2 separate regions of the Homo sapiens genome follow, and region 2 is linked to region 1. Evidence: promoter capture Hi-C in 16 types of primary human blood cells and fetal thymus (Javierre and others, 2016). All regions are on one chromosome and are shown on one strand. The core of a region is centred on a gene start or on the middle of the fragment in contact, and the rest is flanking DNA. Distances in the headings are between cores, read along the strand shown. Region 1 holds the start of CHST13 (carbohydrate sulfotransferase 13). Region 2 overlaps TXNRD3 (thioredoxin reductase 3).

Region 1 (7,342 bases), core at 2,262-4,761:
ATGTGATTCCGATAGGCTCCCCTACGCCTCCACCACCTGCTGGGATAGGCATGTGGCCTAGGCCTGTCCAATCACAGCCTCCCAGCCCTTCCTGCCACCTGACTGGCTCAGAGACGGGCACTTGAGACCCAGACCGGGCCAATGGATGCCTCCTTGGGACTTTGGCTGGAATCAGTGGCAAAGGAACCCTCTCTAGCTTTGGGTTGGAGTTGCTGAACTGGTGCAGCTGAGAGTGAGGCTATGGCAGAGAAAAGCTAAACCACAGCTGGAGGTGTGATCTGAACCCCAAGATCTATGCCTGTCCGAGGCAGAGGCACCTGGCCTTTTCAGTCACAGGCACAGACCCACTCCCTCCCAGCTGAAGGGAGTCTGAATTGGGTTGGGTTTGTCCTCGCCGAGGCTACCACTGTGTGCCATTGGGTGGCCCACAGTCTTAGCTTCCTTGCCTGCCTAGGGGTGAGCAGGGGCTGGGATGGGATGCAGAGGCCCACCTGGCTCCAAGAGGAACACCTGTGACTCCAAACACTGGGACAGATGCTCAGCCCTGCAGCCGCGGGAGTGGAATAGGGGAAGGGGGCTGGTGCCAACACTGCTCCCGCCGGTGTCTCAGAGGCAGAAGACATAGAGCTGAGATCTTGGGTTTTCATATTAAAAATGTAAGCTCCTCGAGGCAGGGGTATTTCTAAGTTTTGTTCCCCACTGTCTCCCAGTACCTGCACGAGCAGACAACCAACAGGTCCGTGGTCCGTGGTGTGCCAGCCACGGGAAGCATGGTCACCATGCCCAGGCAAAAACACAGAGGGAGCCAAGGGGGCCGCAGGAGACCCAGGGGTCTGCCATTGGGAGCTGCCGCTGGGCACTGGGGATGAGGGTGGGGTGATGAGGGCAGCAGTGCTCTGGGCAGCTGCCCCACCTTCCTGGAATCTCCTCCTCCCTGGGACCCTAAGCAGTAGGCCAGTGCAGGTGGTGGAGCCCTGGGGCTGAGGCTGTGGCTGTGGAGGGGCTGCCGCAGACCTCCCCCTACTAGAATGTCTCTGAGCTCCCTGGGGTAGCAAGAGCCCCAGGCCTGAGCCAGTAGCCCTTCAGTGGCCCCTTGCCCAACTTACGGCAGCACCTCTGGCTCTGGAGAAGGAGGGGACAGTGCTGGGCCTCTTGCTCTGGAGAAGGAGGGGACAGTGCTGGGCCTGCCCTCCTGGGAGAAGGGGCTGAAATCCCTCCTGAGTTCTGGAGCCCTCATCCCCAGGCCAGAAGCCCTCACAGGGCACAGACCACATCCCTTCCAACTCAGGCATGGCTGCAGAGACACTGCAGGCCCTCGTGAGGCCATTTCCAGAGGCCAAGGGCAGGGGATGCCCCTCCAGCAGGACTAGCCTGGCAGGAAAAGGCCTTTCCCAGCTGAGTGCCCTCCCTGTGTGCCACCTGCAGGCCCACAAGCATAGTCTCAGCCAAAGCTTCAGCTCAGGGCTTGGGAGAGAGAAAAGCCAGTGTGAGAGGCTGGATAGGTTGGTCTGATTAACTCTTGCTCGCCCAAGGTCACTCACAAAGCTGTGATGGCTGGAGACAGGCCATGGGAGAGGTACAAGAGCGCTTGACAGAAACAGAGAGAGATGCTGAGATGCTGGGTGAGGTCATGGCCAAGAGCAGGACAGGCCAGGTGGAGAGCCCAGCCTGCGCAGAGGCTGGGAAGGGAGGTTCGGAGCCGTCCTCCTAACACCTGCTGTCTCTTCCCAGGCTCTGCAGGAGAGGGAGGGAGGTCAGAAGGAACAAAGCCCAGAAGGTGACTAGTACCTTGGTTTGTTTCTCATCCCTCAAACCTGGGTAGAGTAGGTGACAGGAGAGAGGTGTCCCACGGAGACATGGGGACGCAGACACTCCATGCAGTCACTCAAAGATGTATGCTCCTTTGCAGACACTCCCCGGGACCCAGGCACTCAGGTGTCCTCTAACATCCCACGCTGAGCCCTGAGGGGCCAGTAGCCACCAAGTTCTGCCCTGTCTTAGTACTGGGTAAACATCTGTCTACTGAATGACTCGGTGGACAGAGGCTGTGGCAGCCACAGACACTGAGTCCACACCCCAGACTGCCAGGAGATTGTCTGCTCAACACCACCAGACAGCTCACAGAAGGGGTTGTGGGGGTGCTGGAAAGAGACACCCCAGCCCTATCCCATGGGCTTGGGGAGGCATCCAGGTCTGACCTGCTGTGTCTGGACACACAAGGGGCAAGGGGCAGTGTGAGGGTCAGGGGGAGTGGGCAGAGGCCTCCCCAGGCCCTGATATCCTCAAGTCTTGGGCCACTCCCACCCCCACTGCCCAACATCCCCGCCCACCCTGGACCTAGTTACTTACTCCCTGGGACTGTGTCTGCCAGGTTCCAAGGGTGGGGCCCAGGATTCTCAGAGCCCACACTGGGGGTGGGGAGGCGGACTGAGTCGTCCCACCCAGCACGCATACCACATACAAGGAAAGGCAAACAGCCCTGAGGTCAGGAGACCCGGGCGCTGGCTGGGCCCCTCCAGTCCCAAGTAGATTGTATAGCCAGCACGTTGCCACCACACCTGTCTCCCCACTCTCTGGCCCGCTTCAGATTGTGTGAAATGGGTTGATGGGAGGCTTCACATGAGCTGAGGAGAGACTCAGAGCAAAGACTCAGCACCGGTGGAGCCCAGGGCACTCAGCTCTGCGGAGTCATGACTAACTGCCTCAGTTTCCCCAGCCAGACCACGAGTGGGTGCACAGGAGTCCCAAGCCCTACCCAGTGTGGATTTCAGGGTGGAGCAGGGAGTGGCACCCACTGCACAGTAGGACAACCAAGGGACCGGACCGAGTGGCCCAAGCTTCCCCTCCTATGCGCATGCGCCCAGCAGCGCTCATGTCCAGGGGCCGTGGGGTGCGCAGGGGAAGGGGGTGAAGGTAAGGGAGATGGCCTTCCCGGATTGGCCAATTGTCCTCTACCCCCCACAACTGACCCCGGTCTCCAGGCACCGGCTGTGGGACTCAAAACAGTCACCGCTCTGGGAGTGGGGAGGTAACTCCGGAGGAGGAGCAAGAGCCTTTGCTCGCGGGGGCGTCTAGAGCCTTTCTGTGCCTCACCAGCGCCCCTGCCCGCCACCCCTAGCCCCAGCCAGGAAGGAGACAACAGGTGTCCCCCGCGCTGTCGAGGGGTCAGGCCGCGGTGGAAAGCGCGAGGAGCCAGGTTTGGTTGGGGGTGCGCGGCTCGGCCGGCGGGCACTCACCCGGGCGCAGGGAGCGGGGCGCGGCGCATAGGAGCAGGAGCGCGGCGCCCAGACAGGCGGCCGCCAGCACGCGCCGCCGGCAGCAGCGCCTCCCCATGCTGTGCCGGGCGCGCGGCGGAGGACAGTCCGCTGGATACGGCTGGGGGCGGAGTTGCACTGGCCCAGGACCCGGCCCCGGCAGCGCAGCGCCTACCAAGACGCGCGGCGCGGCGCAGGGCAGGGGAGCACGGCAGCTGGACCCCAGCCCCACCAGCCCCTGCGAGTCGCTGGGGACTGAGGAGGCGGGACACGGTGGGGCCGCAAGCCCGCTCCTCTTTTCGTGCCCCCACCCTCACCCAATGGAATGGGGCCGAAGTCCAGGGCGCTAGGGCGGAGACTGATTGGGGAAGCCCCTCGCCTCTGGGCCCCGCCCCTAGGGTTTGCCCAGGGGTGCCATTATCCACCCAAGGCCAAGAGGCATTGTCGCGGTGGCGTGCCCCACCCCGGGCGGTGTCCCCTTGCCTTTTTGCTGCCTTAGATGCCAGGGGCCCAAGGGCTGATCTGGGATGAACCAAGGAGCCTAGTAGAGCGTTGCCCTGTCCATGGCTCTCCGGGACCCCCGCCCTCAGTAAGAGGCCTAAGAGTGTCCCTCCCTCCCCGACCCAAGGCTACCCTGCAGCCTTGCTTTCCTCCAGGGTCTCCAGGTCCTGCCTGAATCTAGCTCATGCAGGTGGCACTAGCCTTTGCACAGAGAGGTAGGGTCTCAGCTTACATCCCCCGGGGAATGGAGCTTGTGCCTCATCGTGTCACCCACAACTTCTCTGGGCACCACGTGAGCTCTGAGGACTTGCCAGGGACTGTGTGTGTGTGTGTGTGTGTGTGTGTGTGTGTGTGTGTTGGGGGGTGGAGGGGGCGAGGTGAGAGTAAAGTCCAGCCTTTGAAAGACACACACATCCAGCTAGCCCTGTGGGCAGGAGCCCACGTCTAACCGCAGGGTCTTGCTGCCCAGAAGTCAGGCTAGCAGGGAACGGGAGGGTGCAGCTGGCACTGGGTGCGCGGATGAGTGCGTTGGAAACAACATTTAGCAGTGTGAGTGCATGGGATAGGGTACTACATTACACTGTAGGTTTTTTTTGGAGTTTTTTGTATAAATGTAAGGGACACAAGTGCAGGTTTGTTACATGGAGATATGCAGTGGTGAGGTCTGGGCTTTCCGTGTAACCATCACCTAAATAATGTCCATTGTACCCATTAAGTAATTCCTCATCCCTCCCACCTCGCTCACTCTCCTACCCTTCCAAGTCTCCAGTGTCTATTATTCCACACTCGAAGCTCCAGTTGTTAAACTGTTCTTGAAAAATGTGGTGACTCCAAACCCACCTGGTGCCGCTTACTGCTGTGGGAGATTAGGAAATTAACTGCACCTCTCTGTTTCCCATTTTCCTGTACGGGGGGATAATCCTAAACCTCAGTGCTGTGAAGATTAAATGAGATACAGGAAATGTTTGCAACAGTGTCTGGCACTCAGTGAGTGCCAGGTAAGTATTTGATATTAGTAATTAATTTGTTTATGGTTACTGCCTGTTTCTGGCAAGTGGCTGGTTTCTGTTAAAGTGGTGAAATAAAAATTTCTCCCTACTATATTTATTTAAGTTGTGGAAGATCTATTTAAGGAAGAATATTAAGCAAATAATAGTTCTGCTGGTTTTGAGATACAGCTTTAAATGGTGATGATGTTCTCAAAGGACAGGGGTGGGAGTCCAGACTCACAGTAAGCTAGAAGCTTCTTATCATGACTTTTCTGGCCTTGGGGAACCTCTAGCCCACCCCCAGACTGGCCCAGGACCCAGGGATTCCAGGTCATCTGCATTCCCTGCCGGACCTAACTCGCATCCAAAGGTGCCTTCCAAATTTCCCCAGACCGGCATTCCCTGGCCTCACTGCCAGCCTGGAATCCTCAGCGCGCTTTGCCCTTATATGCTGCCACCTGGTGGCCAAAGTTGGGAATAACATCTCAGCCCTTCATCCGGAGATGTCCCTGGAAATGGGGTCCCTGGAGAAAGGAAGAGATGGTCTTGGGTCTTGGGGTGGGAGGGTGCAGATGCCTGGCTAGACGCCCGGGGCCTAGGGAGCTTCCCTGCGAAGACGCCCTCTCCCAGGGACTCGCATTCATTCATTCATTCGACAGATACAGAACACCCACTCCGTGCTGAGGCCTGGGTGGAGAGGGTGAGACCCATGCAGTGTCTGCCCTCACAGCATTTCCATTACAGATTGGAAGCACGGAAAATCAGGATAGAGAGATAGAGCGGTGAATGCTGCTGTGAAGAAAACACAGCGGGTACCAGGATGAAAAGTGTGTCCGGTGCAAGGAGGGTGCCGGGGCAGGCCTGGGGGAGGTGGCATTGGAGCAGAGATGTGACTCCAGGGAGCAGAAGCCAGCAGGTACCATTGCAAAGGCCCTGAGGTGATGTTCCAGTTGCTGTTGCTAGGTAACAAACTGCCCTAAAATTTGGCCGCTTAAGACAACCATTTAAATTTTGCTCACAATTTTGTGTATTGGGAATTGGGGCATGGGCTTGGCTGAGTGCTCATGGGAGTCTCAGGCTGCCACAGTCAGAAGGCAGCTGGCACTGCATCACTGGGAGGCTCACCCAGGCCCAGTGTCCCACTGGCTCACACTGGCAGGTGGTGTCCGTCTGGAAGCTCTGCTGGGCAGCGATCCAAGGATCCCCTCAGGGCACCCTTCATTCTGGGGGCCTCCTGGGGCACCCTCCAGCCCTCGGGGCACCCTCTGGCCTGGGGTCCTCCTGGGGGCAGCCTCCATTCTGGGGGTCTCCTTGGGCCACCCTCTGGCCTCCAGACATCCTCGGGGCACCCTCCAGCCTGGGGCCCGGTGTGCTGCTCCCACAGAGCCTGGCTGTGTGGCCATTTTCTGACCTGGCCTGGGGCTGCCTTTTGTTGGTTACCCAAAGATCGCTGAGGCTGGACCAGACTCAGGAGTGGGGCCACACCCACCAGCAGTGCCCAGGAATTTGCGGGCATGTTTTAGAACCACCACCGCCTGTCCCAGGAATAGCAGGGAGGTTCTGGAGTGGGCGAGAGTGAATGGGTGAAGTCAGAGAGGCAGACAGGGAGTCCAGATCCCATGGGTGGGTTTTTCTAAGCACAGAGGGAAGCCGTCCCTGAAGAACAGTTGAATCACAGATGGCACCTCTGCTGCTCTGTGGGAGGCAGGGAGGAGGTGGAGGCCAGGAGAGGAGCCAGAGCTGTCTCTGTGAGAGATGATGCTTTTTTTTTTTTCATGGAGGAAACCGTTAGAAAAATAATACTTCATCTTGTCTGGCACGTATTCTGTGCAAGGCACTATTCTAAGCCCTTCATGTGTGTTATCTCATGTGATCCTCAGATGCATCCTATGAGGTATATAATAGACTTTCATTTTACAGATGAGGAAACTGAGGCAATGAGAGGCTCAGTAACTTACCCAAGGACACAGCTAGAGAGTGATGTAGCCAGGGTTGTTTGAAACTAGCAGTCTGCCATATTTAACTTCTGTGAGATCTTCATTCTCTCTCTCTTTTTTTTTTTTTTTTTTTTTTTGATCTTTTGCCTAGACTGGAGTGAAGTGGCACAGTCTCGGCTCACTGCAACCTCCGCCTCCTGGGTACAAGGAATTCTCCTGCCTCAGCCTCTCGAGTAGCCAGATTACAGGTGCCCACCACCATGCCCGGCTAATTTTGTCTTTTTAGTAGAGACGGGGTTTTGCCATATTGCCCAAGCTGGTCTTGCACTCCTGACCTCAGGTTATCCTCCCGCCTCAGCCTCCCAAAATGCTGGGATTACAGGCATGAGCCACCGCGTCCAGCCAAGATCTTTGTGCTTTTAAATAGTTAGGCAATGTTTGTTTGCTTTTAATTAAACTATTCTGGGGTCACTAGATTTGTGTGCAGTTGTAAGGAAGAAAGATCCCATGTCCCCTTTACCCACTTTCCCCCAGTGCTAAGATCTTGCAGAACCACACTGCAGTAGCCCAGTGGGGATGTGACATGGACGCCATCCACACGACTTCTGCACAATGTTCACCTTTTCACAAATTGGTTGCTGATGTTTAAAACTCAGGAGAT
Region 2 (7,471 bases), core at 3,512-6,011, 110 kb before region 1:
TGAGACCAGCCTGGGCAACATAGTGAGACTCTGTCTCTACAAAAAATAGAAAAATTACTCTACAAAAAATAGAAAAATTAGGCAGGCATGGTGGCATGCACCTGTAGTCCTAGCTACTCGGGAGGCTGAGGTAAGAGGATAGCTTGAGTCCAAGGAGGTCAAGGCTGCAGTGAGCTCTGATTGCGCCACTGCACTCCAGCCTGTGCAACAGAATGAGATCTTGTCTCGGAAAAAGAAAAAAATCTTTCTTTTCCCTAAACCCTTCATCTTACTTGGACACTGTACTTCAGGTGCCTTGGGAACATCCTGGTAGAGTTTGCTGTATGAGGAAGGTTTGTTCCTGAAAGAGAGCTGGGCGAGAGCTGGGTGTGAGAGGCACAGCACATGGGGGACTGGGGAGAATGAAAAGCATAGAAAACAGAGACAGAACACTGAGATATTTTAATACCTATAGTAACTGGGTGAGGAAAAGGAGGAAAACCAAGAGAGTTGAATCACAGAAGCCAGGAGGAGTTTGGCTTTTTTAAGGGCATGATTGGGGCCTTAGGGAATCTAAAAAGAGCACTAACTGAATCAAATGCTGCAGAAAGGCTAAATGGAATAGGATTTGAATTATGCACATTTTGACTTGGCAGGTACTTATGGAATCTCTTTTTAAAATAAATATCTACACTGTTTCAAAACTAATTGAGTCCAAGAGGGGAGAAGCCCCTAAAACCTCAGTGGTAGGGAAGAGGCTGTAAAGGGTGAACCACAGCACTCACTCTGTGTTGGAGACACAGCAGGCAGAGGTGGCTTGTGTGGATGATATCAGACCTGTGTGGTCTGTGCCAGCTGGGGACCTTTCTGTGTGTTACTTCTGTCTGTTCTCCATTGTCTTACATTCTCAGAGATAGCAGGATGTCTGCACACATTGCTTTGCTGCACTCCCTGCCCCCATGGGGTCAAATGACGTTAATTCTGTTCTAAGTGCTGAATATTTCTAAATACTTTCTAATTTCCTTGAATGGGTAAAATCTTATAATTAGCTTCCTCAAAGTTCCCCCTATACAAAATACTTTCTTTTTTCTTTTTTTTGAGACAGAGGAGTTTCACTATGTTGCCCAAGCTGGAGTGCAGTGGTGCGGTCTCAGCTCACTGCGTTCCTCCATCTCCCGTGTTCAAGCGATTCTCCTGCCTCAGCCTCCCGAGTAGCTTGGATTATAGGTGCACACCACCACGCCTGGCTGATGTTTATATTTTTAGTGGAGACGGGGTTTCACCATGTTGGCCAGCCTGGTCTTGAACTTCCAACCTCAGGTGATCCACCCACCTTGGCCTCCCAAAGTGCTGGGATTGCAGACATGAGCCACCGTGCCCGGCTAAAATGCTTTCTAAGTCTTTGGGGTGCTGACTAAGAAATACTTAGCTAGCCAACACATGGTGTATTTAGGTATAGACTCAATAAAGGGCCAAGAGAAGTCATCAGAATCTGAGCAGCAAAAGAGAGGAAGTCAAAGCATGCCAAAATCATGTTCTGGGAGAATGTTCTAGATACTTGCATTCTTGATATTGATAAAGACATATAGGCTAGGCTGGACGTGGTGGCTCACGCCTGTAATCCCAGTCCTTTGGGAGACCGAGGCGGGCGGATCACGAGGTCAGGAGATCAAGACCATTCTGGCTAACACAATGAAACCCTGTCTCTACTAAAAATACAAAAAATTAGCCAGGCATGGTGGCATGCGCCTGTAGTCCCAGCTACTCGGGAGGTTGAGGCAAGAGAATCGCTTGAACCCAGGAGGCGGAGGTTGCAGTGAGCCGAGATCATGCCACTGCTCTCCAGCCTGGGCGACAGTGAGACTCCATCTCAAAAAAAAAAAAAAAAAAAAAAAAAAAAAAAGAGAGAGAAATATAGGTTAAAATAAGTTTATAATGTATAGATAATTTCCAGATTAGAAACTGAATGAGCTTTCAAGTGAAAGTTTAAAAAGAAAGGGGAAAATATACAAAGAGAAGGTAGTAAAGAAAAAATAGAAAGGGAAGCAACATGAAACTACAAGTTAAAACAAACAAAAATAGCAACAGAAAATAAGATACCTTACATAAGAGTAGTCATATTACTTACTAGGATAAAGCTGAATGAGTCAGATTTTTGGGTTAGTAGATGGCAAAATTCTTCCATATGCTATGTTTAAGACAAATACCTAAAACCAAAAGAAATAATTGTTGAAAATATGGAAATTTTACATTTTAAGTAGGAAATTAAGAATTTCCTATTTAAAATTTTAGATGAGAAATTTTTAAACAGGAAAATGATATAGCAGGAAAATGTAAATAATATCAGTGGTAGTTAATATCAGATAGGTTGAATATAAGCAAAAAACAAGCAAACAGAAAAACTCAGAAATTAATGTTAGCTCCCTTCCCAAATAGAACTGATAAACAAAACCAAGACTGTATTTGAAAATACAAATAAAATAGGCAAATGTTTGGCAAATCCAATTAAGGAAATAAGGGGGGAAACTCATACAGATATGCAGCATCAGACATTAGAAAAGAAGTATAACTACAGATGGGGAGAGATGCCACAAATTGAGTATAAAAATTAGTGGTCATAATGTTAAATATCTTGATGAAAAGGAATATCTTCTATGAAAATATAAATGACCAGAATTGACTTGAATAATCAAAGAAAAAATATTGTGTAAGAATAACCCAGTCTCCAAAAGGTACCATTAGTGTTACAGGTACATTTTTCCAAATCTACAAGTAACAGGCACTTCCTGTATAATTTAAACCAGGGGTGTCCAATCTTTTGACTTCCCTCGGCCACATTGGAAGAAGAATTGTCTTGGGCCACACATAAAATACACTAACAATAGCTGATGAGCTAAAAAAAAAAAAAAATCACAAAAGAAACCTCATGTTTTAAGAAAATTTACAAATTTGTGTTGGTCCACATTTGAAGCCATCCTGGGCCTCCTGCAGCCCATGGGCCACAGGTTGGACAAGTTTGATTTACACTGTTCTGGAAAAGCTAGACTTAGAAAAGCCACCTTTTTTTGGAGGCTGAAATAACCATGATACAGAAAGATAGTCTAAAAATAGAAAACTATACCCCATAGAGGTGCCCAAACTCTAGGGCAAGCATTGGCAAATCCTCTCTGGTAGTGTCTTGAAGGAACAAATGTGAGTGGGTAGGGCTCGCCGTGGGGTGCAGGGAGGGGGTCAGCCCAGGATAGCACAGCAGGAGTGCACAGAATCAGCATGATGGCCAGGATTTCAGCTCTGAGGGCATTTCACACAAATCTCATACCCATTCCTGCTTTAGAAAACAAACAGATACTTCTTCACATGGTGGAGAAGAGTCAGAAGCAATACTTATTGGAGAAGAACTTGGGGTATTTTAATTAAGTCAAGAATCAGACATTCACTACTGATATCTGCACTGTTTAGAGCTTTGGATCAGTGCACACAAAGGGCCGATAGAAAAAGTACATAGATTGGAAAAGAAGTAATAAAAAGATATTTTAAATGTATGAGTTATGTTATACATGATTATATACAACATACATAGAATATATAAAAGATTAAACAAGAAATATTAGAACTAATGAGTTAAGTTGATTGCTTTTGTGAGACTGTGGCAGGAAAATTGCTTGAGATGAGGAGCTTGAGACTAGCCTGGGCAACATAGCGAGACCCCTTCCTTACAAAAATAAAAAATAGAAAAATAAGCTGGGCATGGTGGCTCATGCCTGTAGTTCCAGCTACTCGAAAGGCTGAGGCAGGAGAATTACTTGGACCTGGGAGGTCAAGGCTGCAGTGAGCCAAGACCATGCCATAGCACTCCAGCCTGGGCAGCAGAATGAGACTCTGTCTCTTAAAATATGTTTGTGTGTGTGTTTGTATATATGTGTGTGTGTTTATGTGTATATAGGTATATATACATGTGTATGTGTATATATATGTATGTGTGATGTGTGTAATATAAATATATACACATACTCACATGTATAATGGAAAATTGTAACAAAAAATGAAAATAACTTGAAATAAATTCAACCAGGAATGTACAGGATATATAAGGAAAGAATATAAAGGCATAACAAAAAATTTACTATGCTTTTATAGAGGATGTCTCAATATTGTGAAGACAGTATCTCAAAAATGGTTTGTAAATTTTATATAAGTCCAGTAAGATCTCCATGAGACTTTTTTTTTCTTTTTGGAGATTGGCTGATTATTTTAAAATTCGTTTTGAAAAATACATATGTGAAAATAGCTAAGCAACCTTTGAGAAAGTATAGAGGGTGACCTTTCTCAGTATTTAAAAATATTATACTGTTGCAGGACTAAACACATCAATAAAACAGTAGAACAAGTGGTTTCAAAGTGCCAGTTCATTGATTTGGCATATCAAAAACTCCAGGAGGAGCTTTTTAACTGTACAGGTTCTGGGGTCCCACTCCTGATTCCATAGTTTTTGGCAGGTCCTAGGATTTGTATAGGTCCACATGATTCCCATTATGATGTGCAGCTGTATTTGAGAGCCTGTAATCTAAGATGCCTTTTGCAACAAGAACAAGAAACAAAAGGACACATGAACTGTTAGTTGAGCTGACAGGATTCTTAGGATAAATAGTTTAAGGGTTGGAAGAAAAGCTTTTCTAGGGGATGGGGAGGAAGTATCTTTAGGATGTGAGGATATGTGCCATTGTGGTGACGTGGTCACTGCTGGGACAGGTTCGGGAATCATAACCAACATCACAGGGTGTGGGAGGATGAGGTAATGTAGTAAGAAGAACGACTATTCTGGGTTGCAAAATTTTAGGAGACTGGTACATTGGCATCATAGAAAGGGCCGTGTGTGTTGACATTGGCTAAGCTTCTCTGTGCACTGACTGTCCCCTCCAGTCGACTCCCTTTCCTGCATGGTAACATCCCATGTCCCTGGATGAGTAGGGGGGCATTTCTTGACAGTGATAGATGGGGTAATTTTCCAGATGTTACCCTTGACCTCAGGTTGTTGGTTTGTCTTCGGGGATCTCATCCAGTTATGATGAAAGCCCTGGCTGGGCTGACCCCTGCATCTTATAAACATAGAGCTGCACAGGGTGACCTTCAGGATCTGGCATCTGTAGACAAGGTGAACACTATGCAGTAAATCCCACCTAGAAGATACAGGGATGACGTGGAATTCCAACACCCGAATCCTGCCCCACCTTCCAAAGGAATGGGTAAACACTGTAATATTGAAGGTTGGCAGTGGTGAGCGTGAACCATATTTGTTGTAAAGACATGTAAGATATTCACTGTCATGAAACCACTGCCCTGTGAACCAAATGAGAGTGGAACCATGCCAGTCTGTTGAGGTGAGTGTACCAAGCTCACTGACTTGAGGCCTTCTTCCCATCCAAGAGCCAAGTAAAGTAGGTCCCATGGAGTGGGAAAGGGTTCTAGGAGGTGCCACCGAGGAGAGGTGAGCCTCCTGCCTTACGTCGTGGCAGGCGTTGCCATATGAGGGCCAGTTTCCCCATTTTCTCCTCCATGGACTTTTCCCCAGTTTTCTTCTTTTCAGAACTCTTGATTTTTCCACATTCTTTGTAATATAAATTAGGAAGAGTATAAACTATGGCTGGCATACAAAATATTTAAGTTACTGATTGTCTACTTCTTGATTTTTAAAGCACTGTTAGTATGGCTCATGTGTGGTTATATGTAATTTACCATTAAAGGTAAAATTCACCTAACATCTTCACCCTGATTATTTCTTCTTAGTGAGGCACAACTGGGAGACAATGACAAAAGCGATTCAGAACCACATCAGCTCTCTAAACTGGGGCTACAGGTTGTCTCTGAGGGAAAAGGCTGTGGCCTATGTCAATTCCTATGGAGAATTTGTTGAACATCATAAAATAAAGGTAGTGCTTGAGTTTCTTGTCTTGTTCATCTCCTTTCTTTACAATTGTTTATACTTGCCTTCAACTAAAATTTCATGTTGCATGTTAAGGGGTGTAACAGGCGTGCGTGCACACACACACACACGGCCATGCATGTGTGTGTGTTTCTCCCCTATTGTTTGCTAATTCTACATGTTTGGTTAACTTGAAGAAATTGTGTTTTAAAGAACTCTTAATTAAAAATTATTTGTCTTTGATTTTATTGCCGTCTTAAAAGAGAACATGTTTAAACTAAGTAGTTCAAAGTTTAAAAGACTAAAAAGATCAAAATTTTATTAGTGGAATCCTTCCTAAAAATGAAACCTTAACTAGAACTCCAATATTATATTATTCATAAAAGCATTGATAAAGTAGCATTAGAATTAGTGTGTTTTATAAGTTTATCTTTGTAATATTTATATATTATTAGATTAATACATATGGAAAATGAGATCATTTTGAGGAACACAAACAGTTTAATTGGAATTATGACAATCAGATATTGTCCTCATCATCTAGTTTATTTTTGTACTTTGTTAGCACAGTGTGAGATAATCTTCACAAGATTTTAGATTATTTTGTATTCAGCTGTTATCTCAGAAATGTGTGAGGTATGGTCCATTTAAAGCTGCCCTTCAATGCTTATTTTCAGCATTTTATTTAAATTTTTTTAATTTAACAGGAAATTGGGAGTATAACACAGTAAATATCCAAATATTCAATTCCTAGGTTTAACGGTTGTTATCATTTGCCATATAATCTATATTTTGGATGATGTGCTTTATTCAGTTAAAGATATATTTCACCCCTAAAAAAATATAATAGGATAAAGTCAGCCCTTTAAAACCTTACATGGGCCAATTTGAATTATATTATTTACATGAAACACAGCAGAAATACATGTTGTGTTTCTCAAATTGCCTGGCACACATGGTTGAATAAGCCCCAACCAAGCCTGCCTGTTGTGTGGCTCCTTGTTTAGTGATGCTAGCACATTCCCAGTCTGCAGGCGAGAAACTCCAGAGTCTCCGTTTCACCCCAGAGCCTGTACTTGCTTGTCTGTTTCAGAGCCCTTCTAAGCAAGGCTCTTTCTCCAGGCTCTGTTCTCCATCCCACTCATGATGCCAACCCACTTGTTTAAACACCTTCATTAATATTAGCATGTGAATGGTTTTTTTCTTTTTTTGTTGTTTCTTTTTTGTTGTTGCTTCTTTCTTTTTTTTTTTTTTTTGAGACAGAGTCTTGCTCTGTTACCCAGGATGGAGTGCAGTGGCGTGATCTTGATTCACTGCAACCTCCAGCTCCCGGGTTCAAGCAATTCTCCCACCTCAGCCTCCCAAGTAGCTGGGATTGCAGGCATATACCACCATGCCCAGCTAATTTTTGTGTTTTTTTAAGTAGAGATGGGGTTTCACCATGTTGGCCAGGCTGGTCTCGAACTCCTGACCTTGTGATCTGCCTTCCTCGGCCTCCCAAAGTATTTGAATTTTTTTAAAATGAAAATGTATTTTTGAATTATTTGTATAATTAAAAATTGTGAGCAACCT

The links. Contacts are between HindIII fragments. The CHiCAGO score rates a contact against its expected background, and 5 or more counts as called.
Region 2: a contact is called between a fragment that was not itself captured here and the fragment with the promoter of CHST13 in region 1, in 1 of 17 cell types (megakaryocytes). The highest score is 7.8, in megakaryocytes.

The regions. Positions count from the first base shown.
Region 1 is chr3:126,520,324-126,527,665 of GRCh38, reverse strand. It overlaps CHST13 (carbohydrate sulfotransferase 13), which reads right to left and starts at 3,511. Exons shown (of 3, transcript NM_152889.3): 1 at 3,237-3,511. The coding sequence starts at 3,333. It also overlaps a transcript of C3orf22 not described here. RefSeq lists enhancers at 2,124-2,624, 2,625-3,125, 3,186-3,686, 3,687-4,187 and a silencer at 6,954-7,153. The HindIII fragment of the contact is 2,161 bases long and covers 2,840-5,000 here.
Region 2 is chr3:126,632,344-126,639,814 of GRCh38, reverse strand. TXNRD3 (thioredoxin reductase 3) reads left to right here. Exons shown (of 16, transcript NM_052883.3): 7 at 5,764-5,906. Among named protein-coding and RNA genes, the nearest start is that of TXNRD3, 19 kb to the left of the region's middle. The HindIII fragment of the contact is 223 bases long and covers 4,650-4,872 here.